Linked DNA regions of Homo sapiens: regions 2, 3, 4, 5, 6 and 7 are each linked to region 1. Evidence: promoter capture Hi-C in human tissues and cell types (Jung and others, 2019). All regions are on one chromosome and are shown on one strand. Each heading gives the region's core, a stretch centred on a gene start or on the middle of the fragment in contact. The rest is flanking DNA. Distances are from core to core; before and after follow the strand shown. Region 1 holds the start of E2F7 (E2F transcription factor 7). Region 2 has its middle 100 kb from the start of NAV3. Region 3 has its middle 240 kb from the start of NAV3. Region 4 has its middle 210 kb from the start of NAV3. Region 5 overlaps NAV3 (neuron navigator 3). Region 6 overlaps NAV3 (neuron navigator 3). Region 7 overlaps NAV3 (neuron navigator 3).

What was found. The method cuts DNA at HindIII sites, captures the fragments that hold promoters and counts their contacts. A contact is called where the count stands out against the background at its distance.
Region 2: a fragment that was not itself captured here is called in contact with the fragment with the promoter of E2F7 in region 1 in 1 of the 25 tissues and cell types used here (heart right ventricle).
Region 3: a contact is called between a fragment that was not itself captured here and the fragment with the promoter of E2F7 in region 1, in 2 of the 25 tissues and cell types used here (bladder and dorsolateral prefrontal cortex).
Region 4: a fragment that was not itself captured here is called in contact with the fragment with the promoter of E2F7 in region 1 in 1 of the 25 tissues and cell types used here (mesenchymal stem cells).
Region 5: a fragment that was not itself captured here is called in contact with the fragment with the promoter of E2F7 in region 1 in 1 of the 25 tissues and cell types used here (dorsolateral prefrontal cortex).
Region 6: a contact is called between a fragment that was not itself captured here and the fragment with the promoter of E2F7 in region 1, in 1 of the 25 tissues and cell types used here (dorsolateral prefrontal cortex).
Region 7: a contact is called between a fragment that was not itself captured here and the fragment with the promoter of E2F7 in region 1, in 1 of the 25 tissues and cell types used here (dorsolateral prefrontal cortex).

The regions. Positions count from the first base shown.
Region 1 is chr12:77,063,945-77,067,761 of GRCh38, forward strand. E2F7 (E2F transcription factor 7) reads right to left here and starts at 1,625. Exons shown (of 13, transcript NM_203394.3): 1 at 1,401-1,625; 2 at 599-691. The coding sequence starts at 691. RefSeq lists silencers at 1,465-1,514, 1,535-1,964 and enhancers at 1,573-2,279, 2,015-2,244. The HindIII fragment of the contact is 7,313 bases long and covers 1-3,817 here.
Region 2 is chr12:77,729,097-77,732,872 of GRCh38, forward strand. It overlaps a transcript of NAV3 not described here. Among named protein-coding and RNA genes, the nearest start is that of NAV3, 100 kb to the right of the region's middle. The HindIII fragment of the contact is 7,242 bases long and covers 1-3,776 here.
Region 3 is chr12:77,588,294-77,592,168 of GRCh38, forward strand. It overlaps a transcript of NAV3 not described here. Among named protein-coding and RNA genes, the nearest start is that of NAV3, 240 kb to the right of the region's middle. The HindIII fragment of the contact is 3,493 bases long and covers 58-3,550 here.
Region 4 is chr12:77,615,028-77,619,291 of GRCh38, forward strand. It overlaps a transcript of NAV3 not described here. Among named protein-coding and RNA genes, the nearest start is that of NAV3, 210 kb to the right of the region's middle. The HindIII fragment of the contact is 3,448 bases long and covers 632-4,079 here.
Region 5 is chr12:77,906,876-77,911,044 of GRCh38, forward strand. All of the region lies in intron 1 of NAV3 (neuron navigator 3), which reads left to right. Among named protein-coding and RNA genes, the nearest start is that of NAV3, 78 kb to the left of the region's middle. The HindIII fragment of the contact is 4,690 bases long and covers 462-4,169 here.
Region 6 is chr12:77,851,614-77,855,529 of GRCh38, forward strand. All of the region lies in intron 1 of NAV3 (neuron navigator 3), which reads left to right. Among named protein-coding and RNA genes, the nearest start is that of NAV3, 23 kb to the left of the region's middle. The HindIII fragment of the contact is 4,717 bases long and covers 1-3,916 here.
Region 7 is chr12:78,002,372-78,006,089 of GRCh38, forward strand. All of the region lies in intron 7 of NAV3 (neuron navigator 3), which reads left to right. Among named protein-coding and RNA genes, the nearest start is that of NAV3, 170 kb to the left of the region's middle. The HindIII fragment of the contact is 4,103 bases long and covers 1-3,718 here.

The sequences.
Region 1 (3,817 bases), core at 375-2,874:
TGTTCTTGAAAACAACATCTTGGTCTTACAAATCACAAGGGGTGCAAAATGTAAGGGAATGGCTCAGTGCAAAACTAGCAACAGTATGGTAAAATATTCAGAATATACTGATGAGTTCAGCCACTTTATCTCCCTATATAGTAGGCACAGGTCTACTCTTGGGTGAATGGAACAGTCTCTGGGAGCTAGTTCATTGGTATGAAGACATTTCACAGCACTTTAATAATCCAGCATTTATGCCTGCAAAGGTCTATTTTCCTGGGAACTGAGGCTTAGCATTCCTACAGAGCACTAGCTACACCACCCTTGACAACTGTATTATAAACTTTGATTGCTGTAGCCAGCATATTTTTGACTTATATAAATTGGTTACAACATTACATGTAACCTTGCCTATTTTTCCCACTATATCTGAGAGTAGAATTCCAACAATAATGGTTTGGATGGCTCTATTTTTAAAAAAGAATGTTTCTATAATGTTTATCAATATTAATTATTATGCTTAAATACAAATACAAATGGCATGTTGGAACACTTAATTGAATTCAACATCACCATCCTTAACATATTAGAAACTAAGGTGTTTATGTTTGCTTACCTTTTGTGCATTTTCCCCATCTTCAACTGCAAAATCTAGTCTGGGCTGCCTGGGGCTGATCAGGTCTTTTAGTGTTAAACAATTTACCTCCATCTGTAATGCACAATTACACTAGAAAATGATTTTGCAATTAGGTATTTTTTCCTCAAACAAAAATATCTACATATGTGTTACTTGTTTGTCAATATGAAATTCCCCCTTCTCTAAGCACATCCTGGGCATTTCCAGGAGTTGTAGCCACCCTCAACTTTCTAAAACTCACGCGAACAAACTCAAACACCTAAAGTGTGCTTAGTAATACTGAAAATCTGGGAAGAAAAAAATCTACAAAAATAGTAACTCCTTATGAAAAGCTAGATGGCAAAATAAAGTTACCAAGTCGGAAGGGTGTTGGGCAAATCTGTCAGAAAAGTACAGGGTCTCCCAGGTCAGTTAATTTTGGCGCAAAGAACTGAGAGGAATTCGGCTTTGAGGGGTTTTGAATCGGGGGAAGGAAACCCGATCGCTAGACCAAACCCACTCAGCGCTGAGCGCAGCCCCTTCCCAGGCCTCCAAGCAGATCCCCCAAATAAACTTCTCCAATGAAAGCTCCAAGTTGTGGGGAAGGGCAAATCCCCTCTACTGCCGGGCCGGAGTGAGAGCTGCACCCGGCACACCCTCTGCGCACCGGGTTCCCCGGCAGAAACACCTCGAGCCCTCGCCAGCCGGGGGACGTGAGGAGTGGCAGGCTGGCAGCCGGGGCGGGAGTGGGCCCTGTATCCCAATTCCCGCCTCCCCACTGGCGCTGGGGCCGCACGCTTACCCCTGCTTTCCTAAGGAGGCTTCCTGCCTCTGCAGGGACCTCCACGGACCCAAGCCGATGAGGGAAGGTGGTGCGGCGATCAGCAGCCGGGCGGCGGCATCGGGAAGGGAGAGCGAGGCGCGCAGATCCCCGCGCCGAGTGCCCTGGGCTGGCGGGGACCCCGCGGCGTCCGGGCAGCGCCAGCGCTCAGACCGGCCGAGCGCAACTCCAGCCTGGATCGTAGTCCCCGCTAAAACACCTCCTCTGGCGCCTTGAGACCGAATTTGAGAATCCACCAATCAGCGGCGGCCGGCGGGGCGGCCCCGGCCAATCGTGCGGCGGCACGGCCCGGGCTCACCGCCCCTCGGAGTCTTGGCGCTCCGAGCCGCGCGTTTTGCCCTCACCCGCCCAATTGTTGCCGCCTCGGCCCCCTCCCCCTTCCGGGTACCTGGAAACCTCGGGCCCGGGAGCCAATTCCTGCTGGGGACGCGGGCCCCGGCGGCCGCGGGAAGCCAAGGTGGGGGCGGCGCGGGGCGGCGCGGGGCGGCGGGAGAAGGAAGAGGAGGAGGAGGGCTCTTTTGTTATGCATAGAAGACCCGCGCACGTCCCCGCGGCTTGCCGCGCCCGGGGACCCCGGGCACAGCCAGAGGACAGGAAAGCAGATGGGGTTTGGAAGAACGATCTACACCCTCTGGATGCTGCTGCCGCCATCCCCGCCCGCCCTCAGCAACCTGTGCGGAAGCGGAGTTGTCCAGACTTGCCGGGGCAAACTTCTTAACATCGCACGCTGGTGTGACACATGAACCATGGTTACCGCTCTGCTGCGAGCAGATGGCACGCCAGTTAGCCCTGGAGACAAGACTGGAAGCCAAACCAGAAGTTTTTCTAACTTTTTTTTGTTTGTTTGTTTTGTGTGTGTGGCAAATCCGGAAATGTTTTTTGGTGTTCCCTTTTCGGCAAATTGCAAATAATTAGGAGGGAAAAAGCTTTATATAAAAAAGTAGTTCTTTGCAATAGGGACTAGCATTCTGGGAGACAGTCTAGAAAATTTCCTCAACACCACTGATCTGTATTAAATGTTTCACTTCTTTCATCCTACAGTTTCTTGTTTAAAATATGAATGTTGGTAGAGATGGACTTTTTACAAAACAGACTTTATTGTTTAGAAGTTTTCAATTTACAGAAAAATTGAGATAGTACCAAGAATTCCCATATATTCAGCACCCAATTTCACCCACTATTAACATTTTGTGTTAGTATAGAATATTTTTTGAAATTAATGATCTAATATTGGTACATTCTTCTGAGCTCAAGTCATTACTTTATTCAGATTTACTTAATTTTTTCCTAATGGCCCTTTTTTCTGTTCAGGATACCACATTACCTTTAGTTCCTATGTCTCTAGGCTCCTCTTGGCTATGACAGTTTCTCATACTTTCCTCATTTTTGATACCTGGACATTTTTGAGTAGTATTGGTCAAGTATTTTGTAAGATATCCCTCAACTGAAATGTGAGACAGCCTTCTTAAAGCATCAGACATTCTTAAATGTACAGACATGTCCCTACCCCCCATCTACTTTACAGCAAAGGTATCATTTTCCTTTCTATACCAAGACTCCATTCTTCACCACTTACCCTCCAAATATTTTTATTTTATTTTATTTTTGGAGACGGAGTCTTGCACTGTCACCCAGGCTAGAGTGTAGTGGCCCAATCTCGGCTCACTGAAACCTCCACCTCCTGGGTTCAAGCGATTCTCTGCCCCAGCCTCCCGAGTAGCTGGGACTACAGCCGTGCGCCACCACGCCCAGCTAATTTTTGTATTTTTAGTAGAGATGGGGTTTTGCTGTGTTGGCCAGGTTGGTCTCGAACTCCTAACCTCAGGTGATCTGCCTGCCTGCCTTGGCCTCCCAAAGTGCTGGGATTACAGGTGTGAGACACCGTGCCCGGCCTCAAATACATATATTTTAAATGAACTCTCAGCAGAATTCAGAATGCTCAATCAAGTCCTTCACTTCGTACTCTAGATTGCTGGTAAATACGGCCTAAAAAAAAAAAAATCACTGCTAGGTCATACATTGAAAAGAGAAAAGTATGCAAAACATTAAACAAAAGAAAATAGTAATAAAAATCTGACATTTTTTATAGGAATAACATTTTGAACTGAAATCTCTTTTGTAGGTAGAAACCTAATGAGAAGTTTAAACAATAAAAAATTGCAACTTATTAAATTTTGCACATATGTGGAAGCAGAAGTTTAGATAAGGAAATACTTTTCCCAACAGTATTCATTTTCTATGGCTGTTGTAACAAATTACAACTGGCTTATAAGGACAGAGATTTAGTCTCTCACAGTTCTGGAAAGTTAAGGTATTCCCAGGGCCACACTCCCTCTGGGGCTCTTGTCCTTTTCCTCTTCCAGTTTCTGGTGGCTGTT
Region 2 (3,776 bases), core at 1,069-3,568, 670 kb after region 1:
CAGTAAGGCTTCCAGTCAACAGTAGATTATTAGTTGATAAGTTCTGGGGGAAGTGAAAAGTTATATGTGGATTTTTGACTGTGTAGGGGGTTGGCACCCCAATCCCTGTGTTGTTCAAGGATCAAGTGTATATTGATGTGAAGAGAGACCTAGGCTTGGTATATATAGGTTTGGCAATCATCAGTGTGTTGGTCTTAGAATGTGGACTGTCATTACTGATCCTTCCTAAAGTAGTTTTAATGGCAAGGAAGGCATAGAAGCCTGATTTCATACTTGAAGAGTGAAGGGAAATCTACTTAGACATAGAAGACTGAGTTCATATATGTGTGTTTACTTCCTCTCAAACCCCACTAAAATATTAGTGAAGAATTAAAACCTACAAGAAAAAGGCATGGGAAAAGGAGGAAAAAAGTAAGGTCTATGACATTTGGAAAGTGAAATGTAAGATAAACATGGTGATCAGAGCATAGGAAGCTTATAACTAACTGAAGAAGAAAGGTCCTGCAAGAAATAAACAACGTTTTACCTCTGGGCCCTGGAATTGGAGGCAACAAAAATCACTGAAACAAGGAAGAAGAGAGAAGGCTGAAATTCTGCAGCAGCAATTCATCTTTCAGATTTCCTCCACAGCCAAATGACAACTCCTCCTAAATCCTGATATAAGGCAGGAGACTTACCTATTGGTAAAATTAAATCAGAAATATTCTAGACTTCAGGATATCAGACACAATAGAGGGCCTGAAAACAAGATAATTGATGAAAAATCTAGATACCAAGTAGAGAAGCCATCAACTCCTTCTTTACCCAGGATGCTATATCCAAGATTTAGCTCTCTAGGCAGGAGCATAATAGATTCCTATTTCAAGGAAGAGGTGTGTATATGGGAATGAGGGGTATAGAATTAATTTCTAGATATTGACATTTGAAGCTTGTTGAAAACATTCAGGCTCTACCCAATTATTCTAAGACCTGTGAACAAGTAAACTCTACTTAGTAACACAAACCTCACTCTCTACTTTTTAAGCCTCACTTTAACATATAGATTGCTAAGTATCCCAGGGAATTTGAGAAATTCCTTTAATGTAAGACAAAGGAAAATGGGAAAATCAGGAATAATAACTCAGAAGAAATTGAAACATTCACAATACAGTTAGCAAAAGAAAAACTTTTTAAAAAGCAATAACTGATATGCTCAGAGGAAAAATAAAAGACACAGGAAAGATGAATAGGATGAAATTTAAAAAGACATTTAGTGAACAAAAAGATTTTTAGAAATGAAAACACGTGATTCCGGAAACTAAAAAAAACAATAATGTAAGGATTGGAAATTAAAAGTGAGAAAAAGTTAGAAACAGCTAAAAAGAAAACAAAGGAGAATCATAATAGGTAAGAAAATTGAGGAAAGTAAACCAAGTAGTCTAGTATTCTAATTTATATATCCAATAAATGTTTATTGAGCATTGTTATGTGTCTTGCATTGTTCTAGGTGCTGAGGATATCAGAGCAGAATAAAATAAAATCCTATGATCAGGAGTTCCAATAATACAGAATTGAGCAAATGGAAGTGAAATAATTAGGAGTGAAATAATGCCAAAAGATAAAACAAGACTCTCTGAATTACTAAGTTTCCAGATTAAAAGTGCCCATTGAATGGGATGGCATAGTGCTTTTTTCTTTTTTTTTTTTTTAAAGAAGACAAAAAAGCACATAATCATGACATTTTTAAATACTTGGGATAAAGAGAAAATCTTAACAGCTTTCACAAGTAAAGGGCACATTTGAAGCTGAATATTCTTAATAGAAGTACTAGAAGCTAGAATAAAAACAGAATAATGCCTCAAATACTCAAAAGGAAAATGATTGCCAACCTAGAATTTGTATTCAGCTAATTTCTGAATGACATAAGGATTAAAAAACAAAGATAAATAAAAGTATTTCAAAAAACACACGGTTTCAAAATTCTTCCACTCATACAACTTGTGGTTCATCAAACTAAGGGAATAAATCAAGAATGAAGATAGCATGAGATTCAGAAATTGGAGGATTCAGTGCAGAAGAGAGGCAAAGGTAATCCCAGAACAATGAAGTTGAAGAAAGGGATAACACCTGAATACCAGTCCCATACAGCAGCCAGTCCTGAGTTTTGGAGGAGAAGGGAGGATTCCAGGGGAAGGTCTTTCAGAGAAAAAAGATAAGTTGCAATAATGGATTATCCTATATGTTCTATTGTAGAGAGTTATAGAAGAATTAATGACAAGAACACAGAAAATTGTGCAGTTTTCTTGAAGAGGTGCTCAATTATACAAAAAGAAAAAGTTGCTCACTAATGTAAATGATTTTATGATACGATATATAACCCAGCAGGAAACATATTTACCTAGTTAGTATAACATAAACACTGAATGTTAATTACTATCCAAATTGTGATTGGCAAATTCTAGCCAGGGTATAAAAACTAAGACTAAGAGAGAGAGGAATCTTCATTTTCCATATACGAATTCAAGAGATTGTTGAGCTTTTAATGGGAAACAGCATGGATATCATTTATCAACTTGAGAAAAATTCAAGAAGACGGAGCTAAAAGAGTTAAAATGGTGGCCTTTCAGGAATGAAACCTGATGGTGACACAGAGTAGTGCTGTTCTTATTAAAAATCTTTCCAAAAGTATTCAACTTTTAAAATGTTTATGTGTAGAATTTTCAATATAAAATTATATTTTAATTAAAAAAATAGTGGTTAGGTGCTGAAGAAGCGGAGATTGCAAATGTAGCACAATTGCAGCAAGACTTAAGTTACCAGGGGCAGAGGAAAGACAATTGAGGAACTGTTACTACATTTAGCATTGAGGGGAAGGACAGTTTTCATATGGGAGGAGCTCGAATAGGTTTATAGGCTACAGAGAACGAGTCGGTAGAAAGGAAGAGTTTGAAAATAAGGCAAAAACAAAACAAAACAAAAAAACTTACAAGATAAAACATGTATTTGGAATCACTGGAAAAGACTGAGGTTGCTGCTAATTTATGTTCTTTTTCTTCATCAAGGATTCCTAGTGCCTTTTCCTCCTCAAATTTAATGGCCTACTCAGCAGCCCATGTGCAGAAGTTATGAAGTGGGGCTGTTTATCTGTTGGTGAAGAGTTTTCAGAGAAGATCATGGTGTTGGGTTGCTGATATGGAATGAATAAGAACAGATGAGGAGGGACTTAAGAAGGGAGGTAGACATTACTGAACGTAGAAGAATTTGATACACACAGGGAAAATTCCTATACAGAGGGAGATTTGAAGAGGGCTCTTCTCACTGCTTTATGAGGTGCTTCCGTGGGTGGGTGATTCCAAGCTATAGGACATCAGCAGTGCGTGTGAGCTGCTTAATTTTTTTGTGAAACACTCCCAAAAACAGATAGAATTAAGTACTTCCTATAGACATTTATTACTTATAGTTCTGGTAATCATTGCTAACATTTACTGAGAGGTTATTGCTGACCCTAATTTAATTGTGAAATATGGATTGTCTCACCTGAGACTCACTACAACCCTGCGTGGCACAAATTGTTTTCATTCCCATTTTGCAAATGGTAACAATGAGGCACATATAGTTTAACTGGCAAAGGTCACTGAGCAAGTGAGCAGTGAAGCTGATATTTGCACCTAAGTAACCTGACTACTAAGCCTATGTAGATTAGTCATTATCCTATATCTGCAGTAACTACACTGTAGATGATGGAATAGCTAATGCACATGGCATTTGTTGAAAAAGCAGAGGAATTGAGAGTAGCT
Region 3 (3,875 bases), core at 554-3,053, 520 kb after region 1:
TTTTTGGTAGAGAAAGGGTCCCACTACGTTGCCCAGGCTGGTCTTGAACTCCTGAGCTCAAGTGATCATCCTGCCTTGGCCTCCTAAAGTGCTGGGATTACAGGTGTGAGCAACCACACCCAACCAATAAGTATTTACTGTTATATTTGACCAGTAATAGGTTAGGAATAACCCCGTGGGGCACTTAAATTGAGCTTCTTTTGCCTTCTTGGTGCTTTCTCATACTGGTGTTCACACCACACCTGATGTTGCATTTTTCATGGATACCTTTTGTTTCTAATCACAAGGTTTCAGGCACCTTAAGTCCCAGGCCCTAAGCATCCCTGCGTCCCCAGTACCTAGCCTAGGGCCTAGTGCAGACTATCTACTGTGTGTGTTGAATGAATGAGTGATTATAATCTCCTTATAATAGGGACCTTAATTTGGCAAGTACTTATAAAGAAAGTAATTCACATGAAAAGTACAGGTATGAATTGTGAAAATACATTTTTAAGGAAAAAATTATAATTTTGACAAAATATTTTTATTTGAGAGGAACAAAATTCTACAACTTTGATTCTGTTTGTAAAATGTGAAATCCCTTTTGGTCTAGAGTTTTAGTGGGCTCTCTGCATACTGAGCACTAGGGAATGAAGGCAGTGGTCTGAATGTTAGGACTGGACACAGCAGAGCTATACCTGGGAATGAGTACTAAGAGTCCTGTACCCTGGACTGAGCTTTTAAAGTGTTATAGAAGCTTCAATCTCCATCAAAGCCAAAGCAACGTGGACTCACAGAGGATACAGATAAAGGATCTAGGTACTAAGACAAAAATTACTCCAGGAAGGAAACATTTTATAATTTTTCTCCCGTAGGAAGACCTTGGCAGCATGAAATAATAGGAAAAACACTTTGGGAAGAGGAAGACAATAGTTCAGATCCTGGCTCTGTGGATTTTGTTCAGTGAGTTAATCACATTGAACCTCAACTTCAGACCTCCTGTCTTCTTCTGAGCCCTCCAAACTGTTCTATCCTCTGTCTGTTACCCAGTTCCAAAGTCACTTCCACATTTTCAAGTATCTTTATAGTAGCAGCCCCCCTCTGTGGTACCAATTTACTGTATTAGCCGTCTGTTCTCCCTCTGCTATAAGGACATACCTAAAACTGGATAATTTATGAAGGAAAGAGGTTTAATTTGACCTACAATTCAACAGGGCTGGGGAGGCCTCAGGAAACTTATGATCGTGGCAGAAGGGGAAGCAAACACATCCTTCTTCACATGGGGGCAGGAAGGAGAAGAATGAGAATGAGTGAAGGGGGAATTCCCTTATAAAACCATCAGATCTCATGAGAATTTACTCACTATTGTCAGAATACCATGGGGTAAACCACCCCCATGATTCAATCACCCTCCACCAGTTCCCTCCCACCACATGTGGGGATTATGGGAGCTACAGTTCAAGATGAGATCTGTGTGGGGACACAGCCAAACCATATCAGACATCTTAAATTGACTCTGAATTTGATTGTCCACCAAGTATATTTTCCAGAGTAGAGGTGAAGAGAACAGGCTTTGGCGTTAGCCTGGATTTGGACACCATTTCTGCTCTTCCCTAGCTGTATCAACTTGATCAATTTGCTTAATCACATTTCTCTGTAAAATTGAGACAGTAACAGTCTTTTCCCATAGGGTTTTTTGAGAACATTAAGAGAGATAACTTATGTAAGCTTGGAACAGAGTAAGCCTCCATTAAAGATTAGTTTTATTGGCTACTGTAACTCCTGCATGGTACAACTAAAACATAACCTTAAACCTCTAAAAGGAAGAAAAAGTTGTCTATGTATAGATTAGAGTCATCTTTCCATATCATAAATGGCAAAGGAACCCCAGTAGAGGCTGTGCACTTAAATTTGCACTCAGCACTTTTGGTCAGGATTTAGGATGACAGAACTTGGATGGGTGGAGGACAGAGCTATGGATGATTCATCAATGATGGACTAAGCTCCTGGCCTGCCTTTGGCTTCAACAAAAGTCCGATAAAGTGAGATGGCTTAACAGCAAATTCTCCAGCAGAAGGAATGAAGTTAAGATCCCCACACCAAAGTTGGAGGCCATTACCCTTAGCAAACTAACACAGGAACATAAAACCAAATACCACATGTTCTCACTTGTAAGTGGAGCTAAATGATAAGAACCCTTGAACACACAGAGGGGAACAACACACACTGGGGTTATCAGAGGGTGGAGGGTAGGAGGAGGGAGGGGATGGGGAAAAATAACTAACGGGTACTAGGCTTAATACCTGAGTGATGAAGTAATCCGTACAACAAATCCCCATGACATAAGTTTACCTGTGTAACAAACCTGCACTTGTACCTCTAAACTTAAAGACCCGCACACTTGTGGTGGTTATTATTCACACAAATATGCTCATTCATGGAGATTATAATCAAGAGTTTATATATAAAAGCTTAAAAATAATTTGTGTATAGACACAGGTTTTTATAGTTATTAAGAAAGCAGGTTGTAGCGTCCTACAGATCTGGGTATGAGTGCAAAGATTACTCCTTTTTCTTGTGGTTGTAGTTCTTTTAGCTTCAGTTTATTCATTTGAAAGATGGGAATAATAATACTTGACATCATTAGGTGGTTGTGATAACAAAGGTGATAAACCATGTGAAGACTCTTGTATAGTACCTGCTGTGTAAGAATGGCTCAGGAAATAGAGAAGGAGGAAATACAGTTTTCAGACAGACAACTCGTCTTCTCACCAAATTAGTTTCCCTGAATGCTGCTAATAGTCATTCAACTGGAAAATGTTGGGAGAAAATAAAATATATGAGATAAAAACTGCTTCCTTTTGTGTATTTTGCATAAGCTTACTGCTCATTAAAATTTGTCTTCTTAATAAATTCCCTCAATGAATCATTTTCCATTTGAAACCTTATTTCTAAAAAAAGGTAGTGATTTGTTGGAAAAATCTGTTACTTCTATCTGTCTCAAATATGTTAACATATTCATCTGTTTTATTTACTTCTATGATTGATAGGATGAATCTTCACTGCTGTAGTTCCTTTTCAGGTTTTTAGGATTATTCCCTATGGGGAAATTTATAGTATGAGAAATATTTGTGATGTTCGTTATTTAATTGTTTTACACAAACTCCAAAGTTGGAGACATTTCTAGAAAGTGTATAAAATATACAGTTCATAGTGTTATCTCTACACAGAAGGAAGAAGCTTGTAGTTGGAGAATAACTGATTTCTTGAGTCTATAGAACCAACCAATACAGATAAATTGAGGAACCTGGAAACATTATCCATAACAATTTGATCAGCCATATTCAAGTGTGTCAATTGATTTCAAAACCATTTAAACATATAACATGTTATTCTAGATGTGCATGTTTAAAAATGTGTGTATCCAAGAGGCAATCCCATATAAATATAAAGATGTATGCCCATGTATTTATATTAAGATTGAATTTATGTATGTGTATGTTTGTATACTTATATATGTATGTGTATCTATCTATATCCTAATGTATACATATATGTTTAAGTCCATATGTCATATTAACTTTACTACTGATTAATTAGAAAGTCTACCTGATTTTTGGTAAAATTAAATGTTACAAATTTCTGAGATGATTTGTAAATTGTAAACTATATTTTTCATTCTGATGAAGCAAGGCATGTTAAATAGAATTCAATGGTAGGTTGCTTCATTGTTGTTAGAAACTAGAAATTCTGGGCCACTTAATGGGCAGGCACCACAGGAGCTTCGTTCGCACAGTGTCTGACTCCAAAACCAGCTTTGGATTCTGCCTAGCTCATTCGGCTTCCCTCCCAGGTTTCCAGATCAGAGAATTGAAGGCCAGCTGCTGCCTGTCATT
Region 4 (4,264 bases), core at 1,106-3,605, 550 kb after region 1:
GCAAGGACATCACATGCAGATGTTGCTTTTTCTTTGTATGTATAATGTGAGATATAGGAGCAAGTAAATATTTCTTGGGTTTTTTGAAATATTTTAAAATGCAATCAATTTTCTTCAACTTGGATTTCTGAAGCCACAACTCTATAATTTATAAAAGTTTATTTTGTAATTAGAAAAATTTCATGAAGGATTATTTATACCATTTTAATGAAGTATTTATTTTATTTATTTATTTTTTTGGGTTCGGGAGTACATGTACAGGTTTGTTACATGGGTAAACTGTGTGTCACTGAAGCTTGGTGTAAAAATGACCTCATTACCAAGATAGTGATCATGATAGTACCTGATCTATGGATCAGTGTTTACAGTGTCTATTGTTCCCATCTTTGTGTCCCTGTGTTTTCAGCATTTAGCTCCCACTTACAAGTGTAGGCATGCAGCATTTGTTTTTCTGTTCCTGTGTTAGTTTGCATAGGATAATGATCTCCAGCTGCATCCTTGCTCCTGTAGGGGGCATGATTTCATTCCTTTTATGGTTGCATAGTATCCCATTGTGTATATATGTACCACATTCTCCTGATAAAGTCCACCGTTGATGGGCATCTTTATTGATTCCATTATTCGCTATTGTGAATGCTGCTGTGATGAACATATGAATTCATGTGCCTTTTTAGTAGAATGATTTATTTTCCTTTGGGTATATACCAGTTGAGATGTTTATAGTGTGGACTCTTGTTTGTGCTGTTAATTGTCAGTCTTCTTCAATTAGGGCACAGACAAATTTAATTTTTTCTTCTCCAATTGGTATAGTTCCCTCTCTCTGCTGCTGTGGCATTTCATTTCAACATCATCTCTTCCCTTGTTTAAATGAGTTATCCATTTGTACACTAACTTGCGGGGCAGAGGGGGACATTATCCTCATAAACTTTGTATAAAGCATCAGTGATTTCACTATTCTTTCACCCAAGCTTCACCATAAAATTCATATTAGTTCTTCCATTTTAGCAGAATTCATGTTGGAGTGTTTTTTCTAACTGATGTTTTATCCTTCTTAGTGCCTCAAACTATATCGTATTCAGACATAAGAAGTTAGTATGAGGCCAGGCATGGTGGCTCACTCCTGTAATCCCAGCACTTTGGAGGCCAAGGTGGGTAGATTACCTGAGGTCAGGAGTTCGAGACTAGACTGGCCAACGTGGTGAAACCCCGTCTCTACTAAAAATACAAAAATTAGCCAGGCATGGTGGTGGGCACCTGTAATCCCAGCTACTCGGGAGGCTGAGGCAGAAGAATCACTTGAATAGGGAGGCAGAGGTTGCAGTGAGCCGAGATCACACCACTGTACTTCCAGCCTGGGCAATAAAATAAGTTAGTATGGGTATTTTGGTGCAAAAATTTTAAATCCCTGCATAGTTTTTTCACAATATGCATTTTTCTTGAACTTTTTGAAGACCCTTTGTATATATAATGTGGTACAATCACCAACATATACATAGGCTTCTGTGACTCACAGATAACCAGTGAGGTAGGGGGGACCAGTTTACAGGTGAGGAAATTGGGCTCAGAAATGTTAAGTTACTTGCCTAAGTTGACTCAGTAAATATCAGAACTGAGCTGGGAGACTAGATCTTCCTACCTCCAAAGCTTGCTATTTGTACTACATGCACACACAAAACCTGCTATTTGTGCTACACACAGGCGCGCACACACACACACACACACACACGATTATGTATTAAAATATGCTCCATGCAATTAGTCACCTCCTCTTTAAAAACTTATTGCTAGCTGTGTAGGTGGAATGATATTCTGCAGAAAATCTCAACAACTTTTCTACATTTCTTTTATATTTTATAATCCTAAGAGACTGCTAATAGACTTGAATTACTGATTATTTTAACTTGTCACTGGTTTCAAAATTTTTTGCAGCTCTAAAAGAACATAATAGAATTCGCTATAGCATTGACATGATACTAAATAGTCACTTATCTTTTCTATTCTTGTGAGTTTCCCGAGCACATCTTTTGTGACTTTCTCTTTAATACATTTCACAGTTTTTCTCATTGAGTTTCACATGTATTGGAAGCTCTTTGGACGGCTGAATATTGTTTTGCTAGGGTATACTGGACAATTTTTAAATTTTTAAATTTTGGTAAATTATTGAAATGTGAATTTTGATATTTTTAAAGTTTTGATAACTGTAGTAGCCAGTCCCCAGATGTTCCCCAGTGATCCCCACCATCTGGTGTTCTTGCCTTTGACATGCCTTCCTAAATGGAGTACAGCTGACTTGTGTAATGAATGGGAAGTTGCCAGAAAGATGGAATGTGACTTCAGGGATGGTTATAAAACTCATTGAGGCCCCTGTCTTGTTCCTTTGGATTACTTGTCCTGGGGAGATTCCTGCTGCCATCTTATGAGGTGACTTAAACAGCACTATGGAGAGAGGCATATGATAAAAAACTGAGACTTCCTTGTATAGAACCACCAGGTTTGTATGCCCACTATGCAGTAACATACCAATATACTAAGACAGCAGGGTTTGCAGCAGAGAAGCAGTCTAATGATTTCAGGGCGGCCAAGCAAGGAGACAGGAGGGATCCTCCAATCCACTTCCCTGAGGAATTCTGCGTTGGGGCTTTTAAGGGTATGGTGGAGAGTGAGGGGCTGGAAAATTGGATCTATTGATTGGTGTGGGTAAGATAGATGAAATTAACAGATGTGAAAACTGCATTCTTTGTTCAGCTCCTAGTGGGTTCCTTCAGACCAGCTGGTGTCAGTAATCTTACCTCAGTAGTTTCACCAGTATGCAAGACCTGAAATAATATCTCAAATGGAAAACTTAAATTTTACAATTTTCAAGTCATTATCTACAGAGCAGTTAAGGGAAACTATAATCTTGTGACAGTGTCTATGTGATTCTGAGGCAATAGTTAGCAAACAACCATGAGAAAGCAGGCCAGAAGCAAGCTGACCTAATGATTAATGCTGAGTGTGCAACAAGTTTGGTTTGGTTTTGTCTCTCCGCTTCTTGCCTGATTAGTAGTATAGAATTTTTGGAGTTGGTTTCACTCCTATCTAGATCAGGTGAGTAAACCATCTAGGCAATGGATTCCCCAGCCCCAGTTGAGCCTTCAGATGACTGTAACCTCAGCTGACATCTTAACTGCAGCCTCCTTAGAGATACTAAGCCAGAATCATTTAGCTAAGCTACTAACAAATTCATGACCCATAGAAACTACAAAATAAATGTTTACTACTTTAAGCCATTAAGTTTTGGAATAATTAGTTACCCTGAGCAATAGTCAACTATACAGTACTTCATTGGAATGATTTTAAATTTATAGATAGGCACTACTAAAACACAAGCAAAATATTAATTACTCTTCATAATGTTTTGTCTACTAGAAATGGCATACATTTTTTGTTCATGGACATGCAATATTCGATTGAAAAATAATTATATTAGTTGATACTATTGTTAGTATTTTAAGTTTAAAATAAATGAGATATGTGGAAAGTATCAAATTAAAATGTTGTATAACTAAATACTATCAAATTTATTTCTAAAATTTTGCAGTGTGTTTAACACGTATATATATAATTTCTCATAATATCAACAAAATAGCTTGAATAGATTCTACTTTAATAAAAATGGTAGTAATCCTTGAATATTACTTTTATGTCAGTATTTTATAGAATGTATTCATTGATTTTTGTAATGCTCCAGAGAAATAGAGAAAGAAGGAAGAAGATAGGAAGGAAGACAAGGCTGTACTTTGTTAGCACTCATCGTCTACAAATTAAGAATTAAAAGCACACAGAATCTAAATAAATGGATTGTCAGTAGCCTACTTGAGATTTCTTCTAATATCCAAAGGGCTTATGTTTCTTTCAGTTTCATTGTCAGCATAAGCTTTGTGTTATGCAACCAGAAAATATAGCTTTGAAATCTAAAGGACATAAGAATTGCCTTAGGAGATTTGCTTCCAAAATAAGAATCTTCTTGTCATAATCATTGAAAAGAATATATTTTTATAACCCAGGTTAGTACTATATTGGACACTTAGCATAATATTCTTCTTTCATAAAAGCATTTATTATAGTTTGTCATATTTTGAAAAGTGGTTTCTTACATTGGCATATTATCACTGCCAACCGTGATTCTTTGTGCTTCTTCAGAAAATAGAGCTCTCTCGTCAACCCCCCTTAGGTTTATTAATGCTATCGGAAGCCATGAAGCTTCCTGAAATATTTAAAAAAT
Region 5 (4,169 bases), core at 1,557-4,056, 840 kb after region 1:
AAAATAAATATTTTACCTATATGAAATACAGTTGCCAACTTCTGTCATTACTTAATAGTTACATCTTTTGTTTTTCACTTATTTGCCACCATCCTGGTCTATCTATATGGCTTCAGTGCCCTTCAAGCAGCCCTCCCAGACTCCATTATCTCTACTTTCTAAGAAGCTATGCTGATTGTCACTCATCCGTCAAAAACTCTAAAATCTGATTTCAAATCTGACATCCTTTGTCCAGCTTGAATTTCCTGTGTGACAGGCTCATGCTAGCTACTCAATAAACAAAGGTAAATCAAAGTCTCTTACATAATGGAGTTCCAGGGTGGTGGCGAAAGCCATGTGTGAAGGAAGAGCGTGTACAAGGGCCTAGCATCAGGAGAGATGATAGCTCATTCAGGTAACATGTATGTATTCCCAAGTCTGTGTCTTTGCCAATTTTATTCATCTATGTGGAAAGCCATTGCTTTTTGTCTTTCTACAGGTTGAACTTTGGTTGAAGTAGTTTCTAGTTGCCTCCAGGTGAGAGTTTTTGGTAACCTTCTCATGTCTCAAGATCGAGCTCAATTTCATCTCTTTTATAAAACTTACCCACTTCAGACTTCCTGATTATTTCCTTGTAATAATTAGTAACAGGTATCACTAGCTATCTCTATCACATGAATGGAAAAATGCATGAACACTTTTAGGGCAGTGATGTGCCATTTCAACCAAACGTTAACTTTAGAATAACTAAGTAGCAATGTGTTTGTGGAAGGAGAAAAGACTTTTATACAATCTTCAATATTGTATTTATCTGTTTTATATGTAGGAGTCCTCATAACAACCCTATAGAAGAGGTATCATTACACCTGATTTTTAGTTAAGAAAGCTAAGACTCCAGTACCATTTTCTAAGACTAAACACCTAAGAGCAAGCTAATTTGTCAATATATTCCACACATATGTGATACTGAGCCGGTGAACAGGCTCAGTAAATGTTAACTCACTGCACTATTTCTTGTCTACATAACGTTACATGTGTATCACATACTTGTAAGGATGTGTGGATGTTTATCAACTTTTCTTTCTCAGAGTAAATGGCTGAATAAAATTGATGACATGCATATTAAACACAAAGTGATTGCCACAGAATTTCCTTCCATAATATTTTTGAAAGCTGGAACTAAACCACTCCCATGTAGATACTATAGAGTTGTGGTTTACAGTGGTTTTTAGCATATTTACTATATTTTATTATTTTAAAACATAATGAGCTGTTGTATGTAAGTAGCAATCACAAATTATACGTTTATTTGTCAGCATGATGTTCCAAAACAACTTATATTCAAAACTGTTTATTTTCACATAGACTACTAATTACATATTGGAAAATAAACATAAATATTAAACTCACTGTATTGTAAATATAATATGAAGCCAAAAACATATGCCTCAAGAAAGTATTGGAGCTGACATATGGTTTATAACTTCTTGTGGGCTAAATACATTGTCCTTCACTGAAAAGCTTGGAAGTCTTTTATTCACTTATTTAAGGAATATAAAATGGTTTCCAAATGGGCATCACTTACCAAAATGCACATAAATGTGCTTTCTAGAAGGAGAAAAAACAATGATACAGGTATTTTTAAGATAAGGTAAAGCAATTTAAAAAGAATATATCCCTGTTATTCTTTAGCTTCCAGTGTCTAGTTTTTTATGATTGTATTGATTTTGTTTTATAGTAGTGTTTGAATTTTGTACTTTTTTTCCCAAAAATATTACTCATCTAAAAAGCACATTGCTTTCTTTGATAACTGGCTTAGAGATCATTAAAATATCTGATTAATGAGTAGATTTTTTTCACTGCTTTACTATTTTCAATATGTCAGAGAAACATTCAACCCTTCTAAGAAATTTTTCTGCTTTGCATAATTTATAGATCAGATTGTTCCTTCTCTATAATAATGGCACTTAATTTTTGCCTATGAAAATAGATTGTATAGTTTGTATTTAAAGAAGTTAAAAGTCTAAGTAGTGTAATTAAAATCAAGCTATAGATTTCATAGTTCAGTAAAAGTAACATAGATGTGGAAATGGGCTGACTGGATCCAAATCATGACCCTTTCATTTGTCGTTTCACCCTGCTCATGCTACTTAATTTCTCTCAGCCTCAGTTTCTTCATCTGTACAGTGGGGATAATAACGTTTGCTGATAGTTTTGTGGAAGGATTAAATTAGATACTGAATATAAAGCCCCTTATATATGTCCTAGATGTTACAAGTACTCAAAATGTGGCTACCGTTTTTGCTAGATTAACATTATTGGGTATAGGATTTTATAATAGTTTGATAATTAAAGATGATAATTTTTTCAACAGGAAATAAAAGTCACTATCTGTATCTTAACATATGTAGTAGAGAAACTTTCAGGAACATTTTTCTTCTCTGATCTTACTAAAACATCAGTTCAATTTGGGGAGAGCTTTGTCCATCCGGGTAACAACTGTTCCACCCTGATCAAGGGTGATCATAGTGAATACTGATAGGAAGAAGAAGCATAAGAAATACCAACTTAAAATCTTTAATTCCAAAAAAAAAGGGAAGAAAGAAAAGAAACAGTATGTTATTAGACAATTGTGGCACTGCATGCTGGTACCACATGGAAAAAAGGCAGATTAGCTTGTTATTTATCTTTCAGGTAGAACAAGTTCTTTACTAAAATATTAGCTGATGCAACATACTTTTGTCTTTTAAAATAAGCTACTGGATGAAGTTCAGCCACCTTTCAAATACATTGCCCATTATCTTATAAGATCCAATGGAAATAGAGAATTTAATTTATGACTTTCTTGTATAAATGCTTCTTCATGGATGCTTTATATAAAATATAATAATATCAATTTTTATGACTATTAAAGATTTTATTGAAATAGACTAGCATCAGAGTCTATAGTTAGAACATAAAATCTTAATGGTATCACAATTTACTTTAGACACACAAAATGAATGTCTAAAAATGGGTTTCATATAAATTTTTCATGGTGGGATAGATATTAGAGAACTAAGATATGTCATTATATATATGCAATCACTTAAATGCCTTTGTTGTTTTCATGTTTGAGACATCTTTACAATGTTCCTAATATTTCGATGTTAAGATTTTTAACAGAATAGCACGATTTTACTCTCAAGGCATACTTAAAATATGTCTCATAGGGAGTTTAATTAGATAGGAAATTTGGGTATTCTTATGTCTATTATTTCATTTTACATTGTTATGAAGGGTTATTTGAGACCGGGTAATTTATAAAGAAAAGAGGTTTATTTTGGCTCACAGTTCTGTAGACTGTACAGGAAGCACAGTGCCAGCATCTGCTTCTGATGAGCACCTCAGGAAGCTTCCAATCATGGTGGAAGGTGAAGGGGGAGCAGGCAGGTCACATGAGGAAAGAGGGAGCAAGAGAGAGAGGGGAGGAGGTGTCAGACTGTTTAAACAACCAATTCTTCCTTGAACTAACAGAGTTAGAATTCACTGATTACCATAGGGAGGGCACCAAGCCGTTCAGTAGGGATATGTCCCCGTGACCCAAACACTTCCCATTAGGCCCTACTTCCAGTATTGGAGATCACATTTCAACATGAGATTTGGAGGGGACAAACACTTATATTTAATAGATTGCTGAAAAGGTATCATTACTTAAAAATGATCTTTTGCCTATGTCTAAGTTTAATTTTGACCTGAACTTCAGCAATTGACTAGTGTCTGACCACCAGAAGCATTCCTGATCTCTGAGGAGCTGCAGTTCCAGCAACTCACTCTGTACCTAAGATTGGTGACAAAGAAAGCCCAGGCATCCAAACAAGTCAGCCCTTGAGGAAAAATAGGGCTGAAAGCACACAGGCTGCACCTTATATTCTGTGTTCAGGAGATTCCCCTAGAGACAGAGAAATAAGGTACACCCTAATAGGTTGGTGGTGTGCCACCAAAGTCATTTTGCTTGAAAGCTGAAGCATGAAAGAAAAGAGGTGAAACAGTAACCTAAAACATGAAGATACTGTGAGATACTGAAGTAGTATGGACACTTATCAGTAGAGACAAACAACAATGGACATGCAGAGGGAAAACTTTTTAAACTTTTGTATTTGAGAGAGAAGTGAATGGCTATCTTTTTATACCTCAACCGGCCAGGATGG
Region 6 (3,916 bases), core at 884-3,383, 790 kb after region 1:
ATGATTAGGGAAACTTTAGATCAACTAAGAAACAGGAACAAAAAATGCTATGCTATTATCTCAAAAATGCATACTCCTTCCTACTTAAGAATAATAAATTTATATATTATGATATGGTAAAATTCACAACTAATTGTATTTTTCCCTAGAATGTTTAAAGCATTATCTAATACCAGCTTCAGTGTCTATATTACTGTAACTTCATGAAAGACTACTAACAATACTGGCTATCATTTATTAATATTAAGTAGTACTTGCCAGATGCCGTTAGAGGTGCTTTAAATGCATTCTCATTTAGTCTTCGTGTGTACTACCGTTATCTTCACTTTTTAGATAAGGAGACTAAAGTATAACTAGAGCTAAGAAACATGAGAAAGACGACCTAGCTACTGCCTATTTTGTAATTCCCATGGACTAAGCTTGGAGAAGTAAGAACTATTACTACAATAGCAGAAATTGAACAACAGCTTCATTTAGGAAATCACAGCAAAAGTATAAATAAAATGATGACTCTTAGGAAATAAAAAGCAGTTTTTGAGAGTAGGGATAGATGTGGCCTGCTCATTATAAAGTTCACGTGTGGTAATGGATAACTGATTTTCAAAATAACAGTTTAAACTCTGAAAATTCTGTTATTCTGACTGGGTGCAGTGGCTCACGCCTGCAATCCCAACACTTTGGGAGGCTAAGGCAGGGGGATAACCTGCAGTCAGGAATTTGAGACCAGCCTGGCCAACATGGTGAAACCCCATCTCTACTAAAAATACAAAACTTAACCGAGCGTAGTGGCACATGTCTGTAATCCCAGCTACTTGAAAGGGAGGCTGAGGTGGTAGAATTACTTGAACCCAGGAGGTGGAGGTTGTAGCGAGCTGAGATCGCACCACTGCACTCCAGCCTGGGCAACAGAACGAGACTCCCTCTCATAAATAAATAAATAAATAAATAAATAAATAAATAAATAATGTTATACTTATGAAGAATAACAAAACATATGCATTATAAGTTTGTGAAAACGGCCTAGTAAAATATTTTAAAATTGTTATTGATGTATAATAGACACATACCAATAAAGTACACATACCATAAATATGTTTCATGAATTTGTAGAAAATGAACACATTTTTCCAGCTAGTAGAGAATAGGAAACAGACATTTACAATTGCTGTCTGACATTTACAATTACAATTTAGATTCCTTATTCTCGTAGATTTATATTATTCCAGTACGTGAATTCTCCCACAATTTATTTTTTATTCTGCTTTTAATGTGGGCATTTGGATAGTTTATAGCTTGGGGATTTATGAATAATGACACTGTGAACATTCCTGCACATGTCTTTTTGCGAACATAAGAAGCGATGTCTGTTGGGTAGATCCCTAGGGGTGAAACTTCTAGGTAATAGGCAAGACATATACTCAGCTTTCATGAGTACGATTACTGCCACCATTTCTAAAGTGGTTGTACCAGATTGCTTTCTTACTAACCTGAATGCATCTTCAGTTGCTCCACATCTCTGCCCTCTGGTATCACCATTGTTATGAGGCCACAGGTCCTTAGCATTTTCTATGTAGTGTGATTTTGTTGTAGTTTTAAGCTTCCATACACTTATGACTGATGGAATTGATTATCTTTTCTGTATTTAACTGGCCATTTGGATATCTTCCGTTGTGTTCATTCAGGTTTTCTGCTTACTTTTCTAATAAGTAGTGAGCCTCTTTCCTTAATGGTAGATAGAAATTTTTTAAACATTTTCTGCACATGAGTCCTTTGTCAAATATGCATATTGTGAATATCTTTTCCCATTCCATGGGTTGTGTTTTCCCTCCCTTAATAATGTCTTTTGGGAAACATAAATTCTTAATTTTAGTGTAATCCAATGTATCAATTTTTATCTTGTTTAAGAAACTCTACTGTTCAAAAATTTCAAAACTATTCTATGCAAAAAGCACTATTTGAGATGAAAATTGAATATGTGCAATACTTCTGATAGCAACATTTCAACATACACAATAAAACAGGCAGAATTGGTCATTGTACAGAATAGAGATAATCTTATCTCTATTTAAAAAAAAGCCACATTTTGTGTCAGATGATTTCTGAATCCAGTAAAACTCTTAACGTATGCATACCTTTTATAGTCAGTTTGGCAGACTTCTAAAAATCAGGAGTTAATATTTCATAAGGTATAAATTTTTCTTATACTGAGGTGAAAATTCTCTCTCTGTTAGTTCCACTTATTGGTTCTAGTTTACTAATATAGTCTTTTGTTCACTTATCTATTCAACACATATTATATGAATCCTATGACTTCTAAGTCTTGGAAAGGTTTCAGGGATAATTGAGGAACTCAGAATTGACTTTGGGAAGCAGTCTGTTAGCAGGTGTACATTTTTAGAGCTCATAGTCATACCAGTTGGTAGGAAAATGAAAAAGCCTCACCTTTTTGTCCTCTTCTTTGAGTAAAGGCTTTCAACTATTCCACACACAATATGAATTTCAGATGCCTTATCATCATGGTTATTCGTTTTCAGACATAGCCTAATTAGTTACTGATATATTTAACATTAAGATTAAAAATTAATAGAAAGCAATAGCCTACATGATGTTTCATCAGCAATATGGCTCCATTAGTTTCTAGAACTGGAAGGCAGCCTGTTTCTGTTGATTCAGCTTAGAGCAGCTCTATCATATTTTTGGCAGTACCTCATACCATGTTCACATACTAAACTTGAATTTGAATAAATCTGCATAAATCCCCTAAATCGTACTTTTATGATTATTATCAAACAAGTGTCCTCCAACTTTTTCAGTTAATTTACGAATGTACAAAACTTGCTGATCATTAGAAACCTTGTTTTCCGAGAACATTTTATGATATAGGACTATGTTTTCTTTTTGATGTAAAAGTAACTGAAGAAGGTAGGAAATAAAGCTATGTAATCATGATAAGCCAATTGTGTGTATGTGTGTATGTGTGTGTGTGTGTGTGTTTGTGTGTGTGTGTTAAAATTATTGGAAATAAATGTGCCAGAATATTTGTGGCACTTATCCTAGAAAACAACATATAATTTCAAATCATTTATGCTAATTCCAAGTTCATTTCCTTATCAATCATGCCGCCTCTTTCTACTATCTTTTCTAAATCTACAAATGAGATCATATACCGTCTAAATATTTTAAGTGTAAGCATTTATTACTTAGAAATGCTGACTAACATCTGGCCGGGTGCAGTGGCTCACGCCTGTAATCCCAGCACTTTGGGAGGCCGAGGTGGGTGGAGGCAGGCAGATCACGAGGTCAGGAGATTGAGACCATCCTGGCTAACACGATGAAACCCCGTCTCTACTAAAAATACAAAAAATTAGCTGGGCGTGGTGGCGGGCGCCTGTAGTCCCAGCTACTCGGGAGGCTGAGGCAGGAGAATGGCCTGAACCCAGGAGGCGGAGCTTGCAGTGAGCTGAGATCGCGCCACTGCCCTCCAGCCTGGGTGACAGAGCGAGACTCCATCTCCAAAAATAAAAATAAAAAATATATGCTGACTAACATCCTTTTGCATGTGTCCTAAAGAATTCAGGTGGAGAATGATCTTTTAATCAACATTTAAAAATTATAATTGTCTAAATATTTATACAGTTATCCAACTGTTCGGTATAGCCTAAATTTCAATATATTTTTGCCAAAAATAGTAAAATAATCATCAAATATTGTCTGAAATCAAAATTCTAAGCTTTTGTTATTTTTTTGGCTTCCCACTTAACATTGTTACAAAATGAAAGAAGGTCAGTTTGACAGAATCTATTCTTAGTGAATCTGTGATATCCCTAAAGGGTATCACAATATTTTTCTATTTTCTCAAAAGGTCTCTGTTCAATGACATTGTGATATATTATAAGAATTCTATAATACTTTGCAG
Region 7 (3,718 bases), core at 720-3,219, 940 kb after region 1:
GGGCTTCCTTCTCTTTGTCTAGATTCTAATCAGGTGTCTTCTGGTGTGGAAGCTTTGGCTTTTATTTACACACAACACAGAATTAATAAGATAGATGCCAAGGATTTAGCAACATTTTAATTCAACATTATACAGGTATCAGAGTTAATGAGAATTATGCATTAGTCTTTAAATTTGGGCAGCTTATTCAGCTAAAACATAGATGTCTAGCTCTTAAACACTTTGTTTTTTTAATTACTCTGAAATTACAATAAAGTCAAAGAACTGAACTGTTTTCTTTTCAAGCCAGTGCAAATGTGCTTTAGTTATTATTTTACTGGTGATCTAATTATGCATTTTAATGCTTTATTACTTAATACTTATATAAGCCTAAAATACGTTGTTAATGTCATAATTTCAGGGATTTTAGTATTCTTTCCATGAGTTACCATAACTAGGTGCATATGTGTAAATATATGTATATATCTATATCTATATATTTATATCTATGTATATATCAATTTATAAGACTAAATAGACTTGGCCATATGTGTTGTTGGTTTATGCATACATGCACAAATATTGAGGTGTCCACAAAGTATATATGCCTGTACATAAATTACATACTGGCTGGTGAGTGAATGTAAGCTTCTCTAAATTGTACAACTCTCCACAGAGTGGCACTCTAATATTGCAAAGGTACAATATAAGCATGTGCAGAATGAACAGCTCTTCTAGGATCCCTATAAAACTCCACCCCATGTTTCTTTTGAGTCACTATAAAATTGATGACTGAGGCAATACACGAGCAATTATTTATGCAAAGCAGTGTGAGGAGGTGCATGAGGATCCACTTAATACCAAGACATATTTAGATTTGACTGCCACTTTTCTTCAACTTAATTTTTTTAAAGCATTTGGTATGTTGTTGTGGAATTAAAGTCCTAATTATTTATCAAAATAAGTGGCATAGCCACATTGTTTAATCATTTTCCTCTTTCCACCACGATCTGTGATGCTTAAAGTATCCTATATTCAGCAGGGACCATCTATATCAATGAGCACAATGCCTGCCATGCAGGAAATACTTCAGAAATGAATGGTGCTTTTGTCATCATTTTTGTTGTCACTTATTATATTTCAGAGTTGGAACCTAGTTTACTTTTGTCAAAGCAACGCACTATTCAGTGAGGAAAAAGAGATAAGCGATTAAGAATCATCTCTATGTCCTTTCTCAGACTGATACCACTCTTGGTAACATGGTGCTAACTCTACAGCTAACTGAGGTTCCAGAGAGAAATGTCCCACTATAAACTTTCCATATGCCTGTTGTGACTGCCACATTTACATCCATGTATTAATTTTAGAACTTGGTTGGCATTGTTCCCAAGTCATCAATATTGTTTATTTACAAGATGAGATAACTAGACATTAGTTCTGTGAATTTAGATGTTTTGCAAGTGTGAACGAATATCTATTCTCACATCAACTCAGAGGAACAGGTGCAAGTAAGATGCTAAAGAAGAAGGTATATAATACCTGAATAAAGTGTCTTGTGTGATGTTCTCCCCATTTATATCCTGCTCACCAAGGAAGAAGGAAAACAAGGAGTTACCCAATTAACTTGACTGTGCGATAAATGTGGCTTGCTGGAGAGCCATTTCAGCAGAATTTCTGGCATGCAGTAAACATGTGGAAAGAAGAGACAGTGAAAATCTTCCAAATGTTTGAGTCAGATAAAAATGAGTTCCAATTTAGATTTTGTTTTTTCTAAGTTTTGCCATATGTATGATTGAAAACAAATTATCTTTCTAAGTTTTCATTTTCTCATTTTTAACAAGAGAGATCATAAGCATATTGTAGATTATTATGGGTTTAAATGAGATACCATGTATGAAGTACTTATTATGTACTTGGAATAAAGTAAGCAGTAGATGAATAATATTATTTGGTTATGGTGGAGTTGGCAATGGTGAGTGTAGGTGAGGTATAAGAAGAGGAAGCAGAAGACAGGGAGTGGAAGCAAATTGCTATTTGGGGACCATAGACAAGAGGTAAGGCTGTAAGCAGAGATAGCCCATAAAAATGCAAGATACAAATCCATTTTTGGAATGCCTTTAAATATGTGCATTAGAAATCTGTTATTTTCCCCATGCTGAGATTCATTCATAGTCAGAAGTTGAGTAATCAACATTCAGAAATATGTCATTGAGACCAGGCTACTTATTCCTGAATATATAAATGGCAACGATTATAATTTGTGACTACATTCATTCTGTAGAAACTACAGGTGCTGCCATTTCAGCTGCTGTTGTGCAATCTTTACTGTGAGGAGTCCAGAGAGACTCTTATTATTCCAGTGCCTTCCTGATGCACAACAACCTATGATTTGCCCTCTTAATGAAATCTGAAGCATCTCATTGCCTCTGTATAGGGACAGGCTGTGGACAGATTTAGAGCGGAGCTTCAGGAAGTATCTTATATGTGTGTACTCGCCTGAGAATGATGTTACAGCTGCTGTTATGACTATTACTGTGGGTTGGATGTGGATGTCATAATTCAGAGTCCCTCTTGTTTCAGTTTTGGGTGCAGTGATGTTGAAATTCCTCTTCTGTACTTGAACTTCTATAGCAGTCTTCTAGCTAATGTCTTCAACTTGTTTCTCTTTTCTAAGGAAAGAGCACCTTCTCTTATGTCCCTTGTTCATCAGCCAGTTAAAAAAGCATCCTGACTGGTTCTTTTCTACCCTCTCCGATCAACCCCACCGAAGCTCCCAGGCACACTCTTACTTCTTAACCTAGTTGTAGATGCACAGAAGATACATAACAAGTATGTGGACAAAGAGATGAGAAAAAATGACATTAGGGGAACCTGAAGAGTTTATTTTGGTTTTAGAGATTATTTGAAGCAAACTGCTAAACATCCAGGTGAACTCAGAGCTAGCCAAGGTTCTGAAAGTTCAGTAAAAAATGTTAATATTGCATAGCTATGAAACATTTAATGAATTTAGCAATTTGGGGGACTGTGTTAAGAAACAGCCCTTTAAAACTGAAAAGGCCAACAGTTTTCAGAATTTGTGAGTCTACTCAACCCTTGCTACTCAAAGTATGACTTGTGTGTGAGCAGCAACGGCATCATTCAGAAGATTGTTGGCAATGCAGAACCTCAGGGCCCACTGCAGACCTGCTGTATCACATGTGCATTTAACAGGATCCCCAAGTATCATGTGTGCACATTAAAGTTTTGAGAATGACTGTGGTAAACACTTAGAATGTTTGACATTCCAAGAAAATTATAGAGCTTGGGCTGTAGAGTGACAAGATGTGGGGTCAAAGCCTAGCTCCACCATACACTCCTCATTAGATACCTAAATCATTGAATGAAGCTTACTAAGCTCTGGTTTCTACAAATGGGAATTAGGAATATGAGCCCTTCCCACTTCAATGGGCTGTTGTGAAATAATGCAGTTAGAGAACCTTCAATAAAATGTCAGTTAGCATAATTATATTTGTAATAATTATTCATATTATATTCATTATAGAATAAAGCGAAATATCATAAATAACTTTTTTTTTTGAGAGAGAGTCTTGCTCTGTCATCCAGGCTGGAGGGCAGCAGTGAGATCTCAGCTCACTGCAACCTCTGCTTCCCGAGTTCAAGCATTATACAACATATTTTTATAGGGCAAGGTGGAATATCCATTTACTAGCATGGGCTACAGTGGTGGTTGGAAAATAAC